Linked DNA regions of Homo sapiens: region 1 is linked to region 2. Evidence: promoter capture Hi-C in 16 types of primary human blood cells and fetal thymus (Javierre and others, 2016). All regions are on one chromosome and are shown on one strand. Each heading gives the region's core, a stretch centred on a gene start or on the middle of the fragment in contact. The rest is flanking DNA. Distances are from core to core; before and after follow the strand shown. Region 1 overlaps EIF3L (eukaryotic translation initiation factor 3 subunit L). Region 2 holds the start of GALR3 (galanin receptor 3).

Region 1 (2,719 bases), core at 143-2,642, 38 kb after region 2:
TCCGCCCGCCTTGGCCTCCCAAAGTGCTGGGATGACAGGCGTGAGCCACCACGCCCGGCCTAGAGTGCCTAAAGTTTCTTAAAATGCCATCTGTACTATTTAAGGCTGGGCGCGGTGGCTCACGCCTATAATCCCAGCACTTTGGGAGGCTAAGGGCAGGTCACCTGAGGTCAGGAATTTGAGACCAGCCTGGCCAACATGGAGAAACCTCGTCTCTATTAAAAATATGAAACTACAAAAATAAGCTGGGCGTGGTGGCGGGTGCCTGTAATCCCAGCTACTTGGAAGGCTGAGGCAGGAGAATCGCTTGAACCCGGGAAGCGGAGGTTGCAGTGAGCCGAGATCGTACCACTGCACTCCAGCCTGGGTGACAGAGTGAGACTCTTGTCTCAAAAAGAAAAGAAAAATGCCATCTGTATTATTTATATACACCAATGACTTAATCTCTATCTTTAGCCTCAGTTGCCCCACTGAAGTCCAGACTTGTATATTCAGCTGTCAGCATCTGCACTTGGCTGTCTGAGTCATCTGAAGCTTAACACATCTAAAACTGAATTCTTATTTTCCCTCTAAACTAGTTTTTCTCATGGTAATCATCTCAATAAATGCTACCGTTTATTACCAAGTTAATTGGACTAAAAGCCTTGGCATTATTCTTGACTTTTCTCTGACATGATATCCAGCAAATCCTGTTAAGCTCTGTCTTCAACATACTTCTTTTTGTTGTTTTGTTTTATTTTGTTTTGTTTTTGAGACGGAGTCTCGCTCTGTCATCCAGGCTGGAATGCAGTGGCGCCGTCTCGGCTCACTCCAACCTCTGTCTCCTGGGCTCAAGCAATTCTCCAGGCTCAAACGATTCTCCTTCCTCAGCCTCCTGAGTAGCTGGGATTACAGGCATGCACCACCACGCCTGGCTAATTTTTGTATTTTTAGTAGAGACAGGGTTTCGCTATGTTGCCCAGGCTGGTCTCGAACTCCTGACCTCAGGTAATCCGCCCGCCTCGGCTTCCCAAAGTGCTAAGATTACAGGCGTGAGCCACTGTGCCTGGCCTTCAGCATACTTCTTGAATCAGCCACTTTTCACTGCCACACTGCTGCTCACCTAGTTGAAGTCATTATCATCTCTTCCCTGAATTACTGCAGGAGCTGCTTACCTGGTGTCAGTTTCCACTCTTGGCTGTTTATTCTCAACATAATAACCAGCATGATCCTTTTGCTACATAGTTTCATCAGGTCACTTCCAATCCTACCATGACTTCCCATCACACTTACTAATTCCAGGTTTTAGCCCTGTTTCCCTTCTCACTCATTTCCTGAAACTTTCCCCCTCCCTCCCTGGGCTCCTGGCAATATTCGTGGCACTTCAGAGCACTTATCTCTTGTACGTTGTATTTGTTTATTTAGGGGAGGGAGTTTCTTAATCTACTGGAAGGTTAACTCCACCGGGGTATGTGCTTGTCTTGTTCACCAATATAATCCAGTGCCTAGAATAATGTCTGGTCATAATGGTGTTAATTGAGCATGTGTGTGCTTGCATGCATGTGTAAGTGAAGGAAATTGGCACCAAGATCTCCACCTAAGGAGGTCCTAGTTTCTCACAGTTACTCACCCCTCTTCTCCTTGAGGACCGCTTGATATGGCTAGAACTCCTGCCTTGGCCACAGGAGCCACTGTCAGTAGTGGTAGGTGGAAAAGTTCTTGCTGCCAGAGTAAGGGGCCATGTTTTTCCGGCATCCCAGCGGGATCTCTGACTACTTTATCTGATAGAAAGTAAAGATTCCTGGCCAGGCGCTGTGGCTTACGCCTGTAATCCCAGAACTTTGAGAGGCTAAGGCGGGTGGATCACGAGGTCAGGAGTTCGAGACCAGCCTGACCAATATGGTGAAACCCCGTCTCTACTAAAAATACAAAAATTAGCCAGGCGTGGTGGCGTGTGCCTGTAATCCCAGCTACTCGGGAGGCTGAGACGGAAGAATCACTTGACCCCAGGAGGCAGAGGTTGCAGTGAGCTGAGATTGCACCGCTGCACTCCAGCCTAGGCACCAGAGCGAGACTCCGTCTCAAAAAAAAAAAAAAGTAAAGATTCCCTACTACCATTGATGCTAAAGTTCAGGTACTTTGTGGATATGCTAAGAATCTAGCCATTATGTGTACACTGCTTTTTTGGGAACACCATGACACCATAGCCCATAGTATAGCTGGTTTTACCACCTCTAATCTCTCTGTTTGGTCTGTAGATGAAGATTCAGCAGAAGCTTATTGATGCTGTTATCTTTTTATTAGCTACCAGGACTCCTACATAAATGACCAGTTTTAAGCCCTTGGGAAGCAGTTTTTCATTGAATGTGCTTAGATTGTGCTTAATGTATTAAGCACCTTACATAACTTTTATTAAACAGAGACGGGGTCTTGCCATGTTGCCCAGCCTGTTCTCAAACTCCTGGCCTCAGGTGATCAGCCCACTTCAGCCTCCCAGAGTGTTGAGATTACAGGCGTGAGCCACTGCGCCCAGCTATATAATCTTACTTCATTGTGACTAGTCAACAATCTTTTGCCCACATTTTACAGAGATTAAATACCTTGTGAGAACCCCACAGTTAATAAGAGGTGGGACTGACTCCAAAGTTGTGTTTCTTCTCCATCACAAATACATTGCTCATGGTATGGTTCCCCAGCTCAGAAACTATCAGTGGTTCTCAGATGCAAGCAACATAAAGAC
Region 2 (2,700 bases), core at 100-2,599:
AAGAAGGTGCAGGGATAGGGGATGGAGTCACATCAGGCTGGGCCACAGGAGGTGGGAGTGCCAGAGACTGGCTGGGCCCTGGGCACAGAGGGGTTAACTACAAAGCAAATCACAGAGAGCGAGATCAATGGGTTACTGGCTGCAGAGAGAGGAAAAGGCAGCAGCAACGCAGAGAGGCAGAGAAGAGCCAGGCAGAAGAGCCTGCCACCTGGGGGAAATCAGGGACTGAGGAGGAAGTGGCCAGTGGCTACTCCAGAGGGAGTGCCCAACTCCGGCTCAGCAGAGGGGGCAGAGGAGAGGAGGGGCCTTAAAGGCAAAGGGGGAGAAGTAGAAGGCAGACCAGTACCTGCAGGGAGGCACCAAGGGGCAGCCGCTGAATCAGGAGGCCCACCCAGCCCGGCCATTCCACCCAGGATCAAGCCCACTGCCCAAGGCGGAGGTGGGTGTTGCCCATCCTGGGCTTTGGGGACCTACTGCATGCTGGGTGCTGGGATGGGGGCAGACATTGCCTTTCTTCCCTACTCCCTGCCTGACCCCCCTTTCCCCTACTTTGTCCCACCACCCCAGTGGTCTCAAGCCTGCAAGGAGATCCACAGGCAGTAGGAGACATGGGCTGTAGAGTGGGATGGGGGTGAGCATGGGTGCGGTGTGCACACACACAAGTTGTCAGAGGCACCACCTGTTACAAGCTCTCAGATGAGCACTCTAGCTTAAGAGGCAGGATACCAGGGTGGCAACAGCCCCAGAGCTGCCATTTCGAGTGTGATATTATCCTCCCATGTCCCCTCTCTGGGCCTCAATTTCCCTATGTGCAGAGAGGAAGCAGTGACCTACACGGTCTTCCCAGTTTTGCCATTGTGATGATCTCACTATACTGGACCCTCCAATGACTCAGGGATGTTACCCGTGTTTTGCTAAGGCTACAGCTTGTAGCCAGAGAAAGCCCTAAACCCATGTCCCAGGGTCTCCCCTGAGCTTCAGATCCCCATTGAGAAGGAAAACATACCAGTTTCTGGGTTTGGCCCCTCCCCCCATCGCCATATCTTCATCCTACTTCGCTTGTGCCTTCCCCAGCCTCGTGGGTTGAAAGTGTCCCTCAAATACCTAGGTAGTCCTCCAGGCAGGACTCCAGGGGTGTTCCTTAGGAAACTGAGGAACTCTCACCCCTTGAACACCACGAGCTTGCTCACACAGTGACACTCAGCGATGACTTTGGCTCTGCTCTCCCCTCCTCCATCTCCCACGAGCTTCCAGCCCAGAACACCTGGCCAGACCCAGGTCGGGGGAGTTAGATCCCGGGGTCAAGCAACCAGAACTGGGGGCTCTTGCCTGAGGATTCCAGCTTCTCTTCCCAGGTGCCCGTCTGATGGGGAGATGGCTGATGCCCAGAACATTTCACTGGACAGCCCAGGGAGTGTGGGGGCCGTGGCAGTGCCTGTGGTCTTTGCCCTAATCTTCCTGCTGGGCACAGTGGGCAATGGGCTGGTGCTGGCAGTGCTCCTGCAGCCTGGCCCGAGTGCCTGGCAGGAGCCTGGCAGCACCACGGACCTGTTCATCCTCAACCTGGCGGTGGCTGACCTCTGCTTCATCCTGTGCTGCGTGCCCTTCCAGGCCACCATCTACACGCTGGATGCCTGGCTCTTTGGGGCCCTCGTCTGCAAGGCCGTGCACCTGCTCATCTACCTCACCATGTACGCCAGCAGCTTTACGCTGGCTGCTGTCTCCGTGGACAGGTGCGCTGTGCCTGGGGCCTGGCTGGGCAGGGCTGTGGGGGCGGGGGTTGGGGGAGGAGTCCTGAACAGATCCTCACTGGCCTTAGGAAGGAGAGAGTGGGGGACCAGAAAGGGAGGTGGGTGGGAGGAAACAAAAGCTCCCTGACCCCTCGCAAGCAGCCTCTGGGCACCTGCAGGGCGTGCTTGAGGGGACTGTCCTGCCCTTCCCCTCCTCCACTGTGAACTTCCAGAGGACGCCTCTGAGTCTCAAGTGGCAGCACAGGGTCTGGCACATAGTAAGTGCTCTGTAAGCGCGAAATGAATCGCAAAAGAAGCTCACGAATGCGTTCATCAGTTTTTTTGTTTTGTTTTGTTTTGTTGTTTTTTTTTTTTGGATCTTGGCTCACTGCAACCTCTGCCTCCTGGGTTCCAGCGATTCTCCTGCCACAGCCTCCTGAGTAGCTGGGATTACAGGCCACCACACCTGGCTAATTTTTTGTATTTTTAGTAGAAACGGGGTTTTGCCATGTTGGACAGGCTGGTCTCGAACCCCTGACCTCAAGTGATCCGCCCGCCTCGGCCTCCCAAGTGCTGGGATTACAGGCGTGAGCCACCGCGCCCAGCCCAGCTATTTTCTAACTGCCCACACCTGGCCAAGCTGTGCACACATCTGCTTCCACAGCTTGAAACTTGGGGTCAAATCCAGGCTCACTCCAGCTGATGACCCTGGGCAAGTCACTTCTCTCTGGACCTCATCTGACGCATCCATAAAATAATCCTAGAAATAACAAGTCACCGGGATCGGGCCCTTGCTAGGTGCAAGGGCCTAAGCACCTTGCGCGTTCACACCCTTAATCCCCGCCACGTCCCCCACGGTTCACAGGAGGCGCACTGGGCCGCAGGGCCCGGGCGCGGGACGTGGCGCGGGCCCCTGCGGGAGGGCACCTGCCCGCCCCGCTGACCAGGCGCCCTCCGCAGGTACCTGGCC

What was found. The method cuts DNA at HindIII sites, captures the fragments that hold promoters and counts their contacts. A CHiCAGO score of 5 or more calls a contact.
Region 1: a contact is called between a fragment that was not itself captured here and the fragment with the promoter of GALR3 in region 2, in 3 of 17 cell types (megakaryocytes, naive CD4 T cells and naive CD8 T cells). The highest score is 5.6, in megakaryocytes.

Annotation. Positions count from the first base shown.
Region 1 is chr22:37,859,622-37,862,340 of GRCh38, forward strand. The region is part of intron 5 of EIF3L (eukaryotic translation initiation factor 3 subunit L); the gene reads left to right. Among named protein-coding and RNA genes, the nearest start is that of EIF3L, 12 kb to the left of the region's middle. The HindIII fragment of the contact is 1,721 bases long and covers 533-2,253 here.
Region 2 is chr22:37,822,033-37,824,732 of GRCh38, forward strand. It overlaps GALR3 (galanin receptor 3), which reads left to right and starts at 1,350. Exons shown (of 2, transcript NM_003614.2): 1 at 1,350-1,733; 2 at 2,691-2,700. The coding sequence starts at 1,375. The HindIII fragment of the contact is 26,563 bases long and covers 1-2,700 here.